2 separate regions of the Homo sapiens genome follow, and region 1 is linked to region 2. Evidence: promoter capture Hi-C in 16 types of primary human blood cells and fetal thymus (Javierre and others, 2016). All regions are on one chromosome and are shown on one strand. The core of a region is centred on a gene start or on the middle of the fragment in contact, and the rest is flanking DNA. Distances in the headings are between cores, read along the strand shown. Region 1 overlaps LINC02453 (long intergenic non-protein coding RNA 2453). Region 2 holds the start of AMDHD1 (amidohydrolase domain containing 1).

Evidence for each region. Contacts are between HindIII fragments. The CHiCAGO score rates a contact against its expected background, and 5 or more counts as called.
Region 1: a contact is called between a fragment that was not itself captured here and the fragment with the promoter of AMDHD1 in region 2, in 1 of 17 cell types (non-activated CD4 T cells). The highest score is 5.6, in non-activated CD4 T cells.

What each region holds. Positions count from the first base shown.
Region 1 is chr12:98,490,377-98,496,684 of GRCh38, forward strand. LINC02453 (long intergenic non-protein coding RNA 2453) reads right to left here. Exons shown (of 4, transcript NR_038383.1): 3 at 3,055-3,108. Among named protein-coding and RNA genes, the nearest start is that of TRD-GTC1-1, 10 kb to the right of the region's middle. RefSeq lists a silencer at 155-449. The HindIII fragment of the contact is 2,331 bases long and covers 167-2,497 here.
Region 2 is chr12:95,938,546-95,945,148 of GRCh38, forward strand. It overlaps AMDHD1 (amidohydrolase domain containing 1), which reads left to right and starts at 4,786. Exons shown (of 9, transcript NM_152435.3): 1 at 4,786-4,990. The coding sequence starts at 4,854. It overlaps CCDC38 (coiled-coil domain containing 38), which reads right to left and starts at 4,069. Exons shown (of 16, transcript NM_182496.3): 1 at 3,886-4,069. The HindIII fragment of the contact is 927 bases long and covers 4,549-5,475 here.

The DNA.
Region 1 (6,308 bases), core at 82-2,581, 2.5 Mb after region 2:
GGGACTCTGTCCCAAAGGGAGGAGAGTATAATGAGGCTTGTCTGACCACCTGTTCCCATCATGACATGAACTAGCGTTTCAGGTAACTTTGGAATGCCCCTGGACAAGGAGGCATCCATTCAACTGATTGGGGAGCTTAGAATTTTATTTTTGGTCTACATGGTAAAGCTTAAAGTTGCGGAAATCATTATCCTCAGTCAAGCTAAAGCCTAGGTATCCAGACCTCTCTTTCACCTAATTTATTTGCAATTAATCCAAAGTTCTAGGCCAGGCACAGTGACTCACACCTGTAAACCCAGTCCTTTGGGAGGCGGAAGCATGGAGGATCACCCGAGGCCAGGAATTCAAGGCTGCAGTGAGCTAAGATTGCACCACTGCTCTCCCGCCTGGGTGACAGAGCAAGACCCTGTCTCTAAAAGAAATTTTTAAAACAAATAACAAAGTACTGGTTTATGCTGTATTTATAAAACAACATATGTAGTAAGATTTTCTTAGTTTTAGAACCCAGAAAGCTGTGCCAAATGCTTTGAGAGTTGACTTATTTCCTATTAGGTTTTTTAAATACTTGCAGTCCAGATACTGCTTTTAATTTTTTAAAAAACAGTATCCATACTTACAGGCTCTGATTAAGTTTCAAAGACTAAGCCTGCCATGCTTGTCGGTGTGTGATTCCTTCCTCTAAGATTCCAGACATTCCCGTCTCCAGGCATCACTGTGTCGGGGGAGCGCTGTGTGAAAATGGCTGTGATCTTTGTGCGGTTTGTCCGGTTATACCTCACTGGGACACCAGAGGGCGCAAGGAGGGCCAGCACTTGTTTTTCTTTAAATCTCGAATCAAAGTCCATGCAGAGAACAACAAAAGACCCGGAACACAGGGGCCTTGAGACAAAGGGACTCAGGGGAAAAGGCTGCACGCCCTGTTTTACTGAAGTGGAATTTGCTTCTTCACCCTCCTCACCTCCTCACCTCCTCCCCACCTTAAGGAACTAGAAATAAACAACTTAAGCTGCAAAATAATGAAATCTGGCTAACAAGGAAAACCAAACTAGAATACATTACTCAACATGTCATAGGCTAAGAGGACTATCACAAATGTACATTTGAGCTATTTGCTTTGCCTAATATTAATAACTTTAAAGAAAATTTTATTGTTTGCTTTTCTGAGTTCAATATATGCACATAGTAGAAAATTTAGAAAAGGTGGAATAGCAAAAAGAACAGCGATCATCAACACACTCTTAACCCAGATATAACTACTTTTAATATCTTCAGCTACTTCTTTCCAGATGTTTTCTTCTTTCTTTCTTCCTTTTTTTTTTTTTTTTTTTTGAGACGGAGTCTCACTCTGTCCCCATGCTGGAGTATAATGGCGCGATCTAGGCTCACTGCAACCTCCGCCTCCCAGATTCAAGTGATTCTCCTGCCTCAGCCTCCCGAGTAGCTAGGATTATAGGCACCCACCACCACGCCCAGCTAATTTTTGTATTTTTAGTAGAGACGGGGTTTCACTCTGTTGGCCAGCCTGGTCTCGAACTCCTGACCTCAAGTGGTCCTCCCGCCTCAGCCTCCCAAAGTGCTGGGATTACAGGCATGAGCCACCGCACCCAGCCACCAGACGTTTCCAGTACTTACAAATGCATAGAAAAAAAATGGGATTCTGCGTGCTATTTTGTGCTGGTTCTCTTCTTATTTTCTAGATCACTAACTTCATTTTATTGATAAATTCTGATAATAAAACTTTGCTAATCATATGAGTTAATCACAGGTAGGAGAATAAGAAATTTCAAAAGCTACAGGCAGCTTTTTTCCCAAAATAGCAGCAACTTGAATGCCAGACCTGAGTCATGCATTTGAAGCAGAAGTTTTTCTGTTGCTTTGTGTTTAGAAAACACGGAAAGACTAAAGAAAAGGCCTGTCGCAGTGGCTCACACCTGTAATCCCAGCACTTTGGAAGTCCAAGGCGGATCACAAGGTCAGGAATTTGAGACCAGCCTGGTCAACATGGTGAAACCCTATCCCTATTAAAAATACAAAAATTAGCCAGGCATGGTGGCCCGCACCTGTAGTCCCAGCTAATCGGGCAGCTGAGGCATGAAAATTGCTTGAACTTGGGAGGCGCAGGTTGCAGTGAGCCAAGGTCACACCACTGCACTCCAGCCTGGGTGACAGAGTGAGACGGGTCTCAAAAAAAAAAAAAAAATCCAAAGAAAAGAAGTAGAAACTGTTCCATCCCACCCCAAACAGGCTGAATAATTTGTCCTTCTGGGTAGCCTGAGGACTGAATGCCAAAGGGCCAGGGGGTGTGGGTCACCAGGACCCTTTGTTCCTCACACTGGGGCTAGTGTTTGCCTCAAAGCTAGACAGATCAGTAAAGCTATTAACCGGGATAGGTCAGCAGGTGGTCAGTAGGGCAGGAAAAAAGTCAGGAAAACGGAGGTCACTGATCTCCTGTTGGGTTGGGGCCAATGTTGGCAGGCAGGTTCCTTAAAGGACAGGAAGCTTAGGCCAGCCCAGGAACAGATAACTCTAAGGAAAGTGATGGCAAGATCTGAGGCCCTGAAAACCTCTGAGGGACACCTAATCACTAAGCCCACAGATTCCTTAATTTACAGCAACAGATAAAGGTGATGTTCTCGGCCACAGGAATTTAGTTAAATCACTGGAGCTGTCTGGCCTCAGTTTCCTTATCTGTATAACGAAAGGATCAAGAAGATAGGTAAGGTTCCTGTCAGTTCCTCAAAGATTGTGATGTTTAATTCTCCCCAGTCATGCATTATAATGAAAGGTGAAGACATTTCCTGCCCCCTGCCACTCCAGTCCCCTAAGCAGCAGCCCCTCCACCATATACTCTTTCCCGCATTGCCACTTTTCCCAAATTGCCACATGCTCTGAGCCTTTGTATTAATGTTTCTCTGTTCCCTAAGTGCTGGAAAACATTTCCCCCATTCTTTTTCTAAGTTCATCATCATTCTTTGGTGGCCCAGCTAAAAATAGGTCTTTCTTTGACCACTCCAGCCCTTCCCTCTCTGTAATCCCGTAGTATTCTGCACATACCTCCATCACTTTCTACCTCTGTAGCCTTCATCTTCCAGTGCCTCAGTTTCCTCACTGTAAAAAGGAGAAAATTATTATAGCAAACTCATAGGATTTAAATAAGGATTAAATGGTATTAAATAAAATGTATAGTAAGTCATTGGTTTGAACTGAGTTCCTACACTAGGCCCAACAGACAAACCAAAATAGAGTCACTCATGCTGGAGTTCCACACCACTAAGCTGAAAATAAGTTGTTTATCTGACCTTCCAAGAAATCAGGAGGGGGCGGAGCATGGTGGCTCACACCTGTAATCTCAGCACTTTGGGACGCCAAGGCAGGTGCTGAGCTTGAGATCAGGAGTTCAAGACCAACCTGGGCAACATGGAGAGCCCCCACCCCCCAACACCACCACCATCCCTCTACAAAAAATACAAAATATTAGTGGCATAGTGACGCGTGCCTCTGATCCCAGCTACTCCAGAGGCTGAGGTGAGAAGACCGGTTCAGGCAGGGATTGCAATGAGCTGTGATCACCCCAGCCTGGGTGACAGGGCAAGACCCTGTCTCAAAAAAAGGAGAGAAAAAAAAGAGAGAAAGAAATCAGCAGCGAGATATAATAGTCAAATCCCCAAGCAGGTCAGTTTTCGCTGGAATGATAAGAAGGTCCACTCTGCTTTAACCTTTAAACGGAAAGTAACTTTAAAGCACCAATCCACTTTGTGTTTTCTGTTTCTGCTTTGCTCAACCCTTTTTTGTCTATAAAGCCAACCTTGGCCAGGCAAGGTGGCTTATGCCTGTAATCCCTGCATTTTGGGAGGCCAAAGCAGGTGGATCACCTGAGGTCAGGAGTTTGAGACCAGCCTGGCCAACATGGTGAAACCCCGTCTCTACTAAAACTACAAAAAATTAGTTGGGCATGGTGGTGGGCACCTGTAATCCCAGCTACTCAAGAGGCTCAGGCAGGAGAATCTCTTGAACCTGGGAGGCAGAAGTTGCAGTGGGCTGAGGTTGTGCCACTGCACTCCAGCCTGGGCACCAAGAGCGGAACTCTGTCTCAAAAATAAAATAAAAGCCAAACTCTTCTGTTCAGCTCATTGAAATACTCATTCTATTTTATGGAATGAGATGTTGCCTGATTTTAGAATCACAAATGGAAGCCAATTAAGATCTTTAAATCTGTTATAACTTTGTCCTTGGACAATGGTTAATATTATATAAGGCACTTGAAGCCTAAGGCATAGCAGGCTCTCCATCAGCATGAGCTATGCCTCCACCATAGCACTTACCAAATTGTATTGTAACTATCAGTTAAAAGTCCACCTCCCTCAAGAAATTTGAGTTCCTTGAGGGCAAGAAGTGAGTCTTACTAATTTTTTGTGCCCAATGCCTATCTCCATGCTTGGCACAAAAGATAAATCAATAAAGATTTATTTTTTTAAATAAGGAGGGAAAGAAAAGACTAAGTGTTAGTCGAGCTGAAGGGAGACAGACTTTTGCCTCTCAGTTTTTTGTTTTTTGCTTTTTTTTTGAGACAGAGCCTCGCTCTGTCGCCCAGGCTGGAGTGCAGTGGCGTGATCTCGGCTTACTGTAACCTACGCCTCCAGGGTCCCAGTTCAAGCAATTCTCCAGTAGCTGGGATTACAAGTACATGCCACCATGCCCAGATAATTTTTGTATTTTTAGTAGAGACAGGGTTTCACCATATTGGCCAACCTGGTCTTGAATTCCTGACCTCGAGGTCCACCCACCTCCTCTCAGTTTTAACTTTAAATTATTATTTAAATAAATTAGAGGCTGGGCCCAGTGGCTCATGCCTATAATCCCAGCACTTTGGGAGGCCAAGGCAGGCAGATGATTTGAGGTCAGGAGTTTGAGACCAGCCTGACCAACATGGTGAAACCCCGTCTCTACTAAAAATACAAAAAACTTAGCCGGTCGTGGTGGTGCACACCTGTAATCCCAACTACTCAGGAGACTGAGGCAGAAGAATCACTTGAACCCAGGAGGTAGAGGATGCAGAGCCGATACGGCGCCAGTGCACTCCAGTTTGGGCAACAGAGTAAGACTCTGTCTCAAAAAATAATAAATAAATAAATAAATAAATAAATAAAGACTGGGGAATAGTGAAGTATGAGCATCCCGAATATCTTCCCCACCCCTCACTTTAATAATTTAAACATGTATCCATCTAATTTGCCTTCCAGGCCCAAATCAAAAACATTCACCTTTCAATTTTAATGTTTATGGACAGTAAGTTCTTGTAATTTCCCATAATCTATTAAACTCAAATTTCCAAAATTTGGGTAGTTTCCAGTTTTTGACTATTATAAATACAGCCATTATAAACATAAGTGTGCAGGGTTTTTTGTGGACATATGTCTTCATTTCTCTCAGGTCAATATCTACGAGCAGTGTTGCTGGATCTTAGGATAAATGTATGTTTGTTTGTTTGTTTGTTTGTTTGGAGACAGTGTCTGGCTCTGTCACCTAGGCTAGAGTGCAATGGCTCAATCTCAGCTCGCTGCAATCTTTGCCTCCCGGGCTTAAGCAATTCTCCCACCTCAGCCTCTTGAGTAGCCCAGACCACAGGCACATGCCACCACACCTGGTAATTTTTGTATTTTTTGTAAAGATGAGGGGGGTCTTACCATATTGCCCAGGCTGGTCTCGAACTCCTGGACTCAAATGATCCTCTTGCCTCAGCTTCCCAAAGTGCTGGGATTGCATGTTCGAGCCACTGTGCCCAGCCTACATCTTAATTATGGTCAAAATTCATAGACTAGTACCCTTAAAAAGAGTAAATTTTACCCTCATAAATTATACCTCAATAAACCCTAAAAATAGTAAATAAGTAAGTGGAGACAGACAGACAGACAGACAGACAGACAGAAATAAGAGGCACTCCCCCAAAAGTTCTCAACACAGCCTGGAAGGCCCTGCATTGTCCTACTCCCATCAGCCTTTTCAGCCTCATCTCCCCATGATGCTGCTCACCCTCTGCTCCTCTCTAGTCACTTCTGCCTTCTTTCACACCCTCTACTCACCACATTTCCTCTGTTCCTACAACCTTAGCACATCCAGTTCCATCTACCTAAGAAGCTCTTTCCTTTGCTCTTCCCCATTATCTTAGTAACTGTCACAGTTGTAATTTTACTTTTTTTGGTTTGTGTGTTTTGGAGACGTAGTCTCGCTCTGACGCCCAGGCTGGAATGCAGTGGCACGATCTCTGCTCACGGCAACCTCCCCCTCCCAGGTTCAAGCAATTCTCCTGC
Region 2 (6,603 bases), core at 3,536-6,035:
CTAAGAGCAGATATCTGCTCTTATTCTGTCTCTATTATATAGTTCATATAACATGTAAATGCAATCAGCAGTCTCCAGATGTTGTTATACTTCTATACTTCCATATGCATGAATTCCTGTATTGATGAATGAAAGGTTGGTGAACAAAAGGGAGGGAGAGGAACAGAACCAGTTATTGTTAGGAAGGGATTATAAAGTCCCCTTTCCAATCAGAAAAAATGTTGAAGTCAGTGGATGTCTTTGTTGTGCGAAATAAAAATAGCATGATGGCTAAACAAAGGCTCTGTACCAAAAGAGAGGGAAAATGTTATTGGATTGCATAGCAAATGCCTGAAAGTTCACATCTTAAATACACGTTCACATCCAACTTCCAATAGATGAAAAAGATCAAAAGCTCAGAAATATCAGGAATGTAAAATGGTGGTGTATAACTGCCAGCCATCCATTTTAGAGGTCGCATAAGCTAAATGATTAAGAACATAGACTCTCTCTATGTCCCTTAATCCTCACACTTCAATTTCCCCATCTTTCAAGAGGAATGATGCAAATAGTATCTACCTTGTGGGATTGTTAGGTAAGTTACCACGTCCAGCCTTTGGATGGCCTCAGTTGCATAGTATGTGCTATGGGAGTGTAAGCACATGGAGAGGTGCACTCTGAGGGAGGAATGTGCCTGGTGTGTTTCAGGAACAGTAAGGACACCAGTGGGCCTTAAACACAGTGAACAAAGGGGACAGCACCCCAGATGAAGCCAGAGAGACAAGAAGTCCAAGATCACGAGGGCCCTGGAGGCCATTTTCTCAGTGAAATGGAACCATTCAATGAATCACTCTGATGCTGAGCTGAGAAGAGACTGTAGAAAGGGAAAAGGGTCACACAGGGAGATCTACTAGGAGACTACAGCCACTGGGAGGCAAGAGATAATGCTATCCCTTCCTTGGGATAGCAGTGGAAGTGGTGAGAGGTGGTCCGATTCTAGATGTGTTTTGACAGTAGAGTCTACAGGATTGGCTGATGGTTTGGATGTGGAGTATGAGATAAAGAACTGATTGCAGAAAGGATGGAGTTGCCATAAATGGAGACAGAGAAGGCAGTGGGGGAAGGGGCACTTGGGAAGATCAGAGGCTCATTTTGGAACATGTGAAATTTGAGATATATATTAGATATCTAAAGGGACATGGGTGTAATGTATACTGTTCTTTCAAGTGAACCCCATGCTGGTTGATTTAATTAATTGTTGTGTTCCTTTAATAGCTGTACAATTATATGTGGTCTCTGAGTCAGGTCTCTTGACAAGTGTCATTGCAAGGGTAGTAGGAATGGCACTATGGAAAGACCCCTGGCCTTTGGGGGCAGGTAGGTTTAACTCCTGCCTCTGACTCTTATCCACTCTTTCTCTTGGGTCTAGAGAATTATGCTTAATGCACTGTAGAATCTTCTATCAAGTATGAATAATAACACCTTCCTTACAGGCCTGGTGCAATTTTCAAACACAGATAATATATGCAAAGTGCCTGCTCATAGTAGGCTTGTGAAGAAGTGATCCCTTATACTTTTTTCAAACTAGATATTGTCCAGATCCTTCCTCTTTCTGGCCCACTCTGTCAACTGCCGCCATTTGAAATGGGAGCATAACTGACAACTACTTTTTGTAAGAAACTCCCAATCAAAGTTCTTGAAACCTGGTCATTGGAGAGGAGTCTACCAGCAATATCAGTGCAAATCTGGGGGACCTGAATCAGCTTCATGTAGAGTCTTAACATTCTGAGCTCCAGGGGAAGTGGGGAAAGAGGAGTGGGATTTGATAAGGCCCAGTCCTAAGTTTCTAAACCAACTCTAAATAAAATGAATAATAACACTGTCTACCAGATATTATTCGAATCAGTTTATTTGTTTTTTTGCAACAACCCCCTCTAAAACCCAATGAAAACGAATTTCCAGATGATCTCAATGTGAGATAAAAAGCAATGTTTATCTTCACATGCATATGAGGATTTAGACTGGTTCTCTCAGACCCAATGCCCTTCCATTTTTTTTTCCCACCTCCTCTCCGCCTACCTTGGACAAATACTAGGAAAAGGGGCTGTGAACTGTGTCCTTGGATGGTGTGGGGAGATCACAGTTAGCAATTTTTTGTTTACCTAAAAGCCAGGAGCCACTGGGTCCTTGGCCTGCTTAGATGCACGCTGCCGCTTCTGACTAGGTCAGAGCACAGCACAATGATGAGGAAATTACTTTCACCTTGACCTTTAAGGCACTGCTGGCGTCAGGCTATTTAGTATGGACGCTTCTGTTGACATTTCTGACTGCCCCTTTTGCGAAGTGAAAAAAAACAAACAAACAAACAAAAAAAAAAACTGGAGGTCAAGAGGAAGGAAGGATGGGTTAAGGAGTCAGCATATACAAGTCAGATAATGTGAAAAGTATTTTATAAGAGCTGCTATCGGGATGTTGGTTATTACCAAGGAAAAATGTGTCATCCTTATCCATCTATAACTACTGAACAGTAACTAAGGAAAGAAATTCACTCATCCTTTCTGCTTTTGCAAACCTCCTGTTTGCAGGAGCTTATCAGGTAATGTTGTCTGTCTGGACTGTGAATCAGATGCACAGTTCACCCACAAACATAAATACCTATGAAAAAGAAATATAATTTCTTTTAGACTCACCCAGAACTTGCAAGCTTTAAGTACATGGTCTGTGAAGTCAGGAGAGGAACTATACTATTGGCTGAAATCTAATCTTTAACTTAATTGGCCAGGAAGACAAATAGCAGGATTAAAACACACGAATAATAGTAATAATACCTATTACTTGTTTAGAGCTGGGCACTGGGCTAAGTGATTTATGTTTTATTTTATTTAAAACTCAGACAAGCCCATAAAGTAGAAACAGCTCTCCCTATGATGAGGATGAGAAAACGAGGCTTCGAGAAATTACTGTAAAGAAATTCCCCAAGGTCAAACAGCTTATAGGAAACAGAACTCAGACTAAGACAAGTTTATTGAACCCTATTTTTCTATAATTTTAACCCATCCTTTATACATACAATTGCATAGTTCTGCAAATATGCCTAAAATTGCAAAATGTAACTGATTAAAGTCTTCAGCAGAAATTTTATAATAGAAAATTTTAATATTTCTCTGTGAATTAGTGACTTTATGTGTTTCTATTCCCCACTATTTCTACTTCTCTTTTTAAAGACATAGAAATATATGTATGTATAAACTTTTTAAAAGCTATGCACACACACACACAAACAACCTGTTTGTGATTGTGTATATGAGCTGTGAATAATCTTCTGATGCCCCCTCCCCCCCACCCTTAGGGTCTCTTTCACTCACATTGTCTATATATTTTCCAATTTTTATCTTTCTCTTTCCTAACTGATCTCTCTTTTATAGGCCATAATATGAAGCTAAATTATATTCTTATTTATCGTGGTCATCTAAAGGAGTGTTTGCTTTCTGTTCCAGGTTTTTTTAATGAGACTAAATTAACTTTTATATTTTGTGGGTTTGCAGGCTTAGTCTGCTTTTATAGTATATTATTTGTGTCCACATCTATCACTTTTATTGTAAAGTCTTTACTGGGCAGGGAAAGCGCCTTTCCTATCTTTGTATGTTCCACAAGACTTAACACAGAGCTTGTGATAAACATGAATAAACGAAATCAAGTAATTAAGGACTCAAAAGCCTGGGCCTGGCAGTGTTTCCATAGCAATTGGTAGCAGGAAGCGACGAGGCTGAGAATCACAGACCATCTTCCATAAACTTGATTCTGTCTCCAATTTTGGTCGCAAGTTGCTTGTAGGCCCACCAGACACAGCTGAGGGGTGGGAGGGGGCATGCGGAGGGGCGGACACTGAGCTGAAACCTATTTTACCTCAGCGAGTTTGGATCCAGGAGCCTTTCCAACCTATCGTTCGGGAAGGCGTTGTGGGAAAAGTGGGCGGAGGTGCCAATCGATCCTCCAGTCTCGGCTCTATCCTCCCCCAGCCCGGTTCCCGGTCATCTCAGGGACCGTCTGGTAGCTGATCCCGGAACGCAGCTGGCCAACGGATAAGTGCGGGGCACCCGCCACCCGCGCGGACCCAGGAGCACCTCCCCTACCGCATCCCCCTCCTCCCCACCCCCAGGTTCCCTCGGCTCGCGGCCCTCCGCGTCCCGGGCTCCCGCCCCAGAACCTGTGGGCAGATGTTTCCTCCACGCAGTACCCTCCCGGGGCTCTGCCTCCAGGCTCGCGTCCCAGCACCCTAGGCAGAGGTTTCCCCCACTCTGTCCTCTCCCGGGGCTCTACCTCCAAGCTCCCGTCCCTGCCCCTGGGCACAGCTTTCCCCTACTCTGCCCTCTCCAGGAGCGCTATCTCCAGGCTCCCACCCCAACCCCCCGGGCAGAGGTTTCCCCCATGGCCCCCCTTCCGGGGCTCTACCCCAGGTTCCGGTCCCTCACTCCCGAACACTCCGGGTGCCCTCACCCAGCCAACCCTTGACGCGCTTCCACATACCACGTGATCCACACAGCTCACTTTGATCTCTCGGGGTGACCAAGCTTAAGTTTCCTTATCTGAAAAGTAGGGACACTAGTCTCCATCTCGTTTACTCGGGATGGGACAAGACGACCAAAAAAGAGAGGATTCCTCATCAGGTTTATTACTCGTTGCCATTCTTGCAATGATTACCGCCCCCGTTGCTGTGGTTGGGGGAGGCGAGCAAAGGGCAGCGGCTGCGAGCGCCCGCCCCCGCCCCACCCTCCCAGCCCCGGACAGCGCAGGCTGCGGCTTTTCGTCCTCCACTGAGTCCTGCCGGTGGCCCGAGCCCGGTGGCCTCCCGGCGACCCTCGGCGCGAGGCGACATGGCAAGCGGCCACAGCCTCCTGCTGGAGAACGCGCAGCAAGTGGTGCTGGTGTGCGCCCGCGGCGAGCGCTTCCTGGCGCGGGATGCGCTGCGCAGCCTGGCGGTGCTGGAAGGCGCCAGCCTGGTGGTGGGCAAGTAAGTGGCCGGGCGCGCAGGGTGGGGACCGCCACGGGCGGAGCTGGCCGCTCTTCCTCTCACTGTGCACTCTGGAGGGAAACAACGCCGTGAAAGCGTCCCTGCACAGAGATACACGGGCAAGCCAGCCTTTGGGGTACCTGTTGCTAACACGCTCTGCTGCTTGGGGTTGTCATTCCGTCCAAAGAGCTCAGAGAGGAACACCCCATTGGAACGCATCAGGGTCCTGCCTCTGCTGGTAAAATATCACTGTCCAACCATCAGAAGGGGTTGAGGTCCTCCCCAGTGCTTCTTAAAGGGAGGCCAGAAGACCACCTTTGTCAGGGTGGCCTGTGGTTATTTTATTCTTACGGCAGATTTCTGATTCCACCTGCGTCCCCCACTCCCTATCCCTAGAATTTTAGAATCAGCATCACTGGGGCTGGAGTTCTGAGACCTGAATTTTTCAAAAGTACCTTTCACATCCTCGTGATCTCGTACACTAAAGCTTTAGAACCACGGAGAACATTTAGACGATAATGGCCCTGAGTGATAATAAATCAAGATTTGACCATCAGAAAACAAGATATTTCTCTTACTCATCTGAGCTTCCTGCCAGATATGAATAAAAGAACAAAGTTTGAGGGCGACCTGGGGTAGCAAGGGAAGTTGGATGAGAATTTGAATCCAAAGCGTGCCATGGGACCACAATTGCACACGATCAATGAGTCTCACAAACTGACCACGGCTTATCTGAGGCAGTTTAGGGTTGTGCAAGAGCCCAGCTTTTAAGGGACTGTGGGTTGGTTTAATTTTATTTATTTATTTATTTATTTATTTATTTATTTATTTATTTATTTTTGAGACGCATGAGCCACTGCGCCCAGCCTATTTTTTGTTTTTTTGAGACAGGGTCTAGCTCTGTTGCCCAGGTTGGAGTGCAGTGGCATGATCTTGGCTCCACCTCCCAGGCTCAACTGCGATCTCCACCTCCCAGGCTCAAGCCATCCTCCCACCTCAGCTTGACAAGCAGCTGGGACTACAGGTGCACGCCACCACGCCAGGCTAATTTTTGTATTTTTTGTAGAGACAATGTCTCACTGTGTTGCCCAGGCTGGTCTTGAACTCCTGGGCTCAAGCCATCCACCTGGTTTGGCCTCCCAGTGCTGAGATTACAGGCGTGAACCACCACGCCCAGCTTGACTGGTTTATTTTTAATTAAGGGATGAAAACATTCCCAATTTACTATGAAAATATTATTTAAAATTTTGCTTAGAAAGTTGAAAAATATGTACCTGGGTTGGGACTGGAGTATCTTATAAAAATTATATCAATGCGACCAGGCACAGTGACTCACGCCTGCAATCCCAGCACTTTGGGAAGCTGAGGCAGGTGGATCACCTGAGGTTGGGAGCTCGAGATCAGCCTGGCCAACATGATGAAACCCCATCTCTACTAAAAATACAAACATTAGCCGGGCATGGCGGCGCACGTCTGTAATCCCAGCTACTCGGGAGGCTGAGGCAGGAGAATCGCTTGAACCCGGGAGGCGGAGGTTGCAGTGAGCTGAGATCTCGCCACTGCACTCCAGCCTGGGTGACAGAGCGAGACTCTGTCTCAAAAATAAATAAATA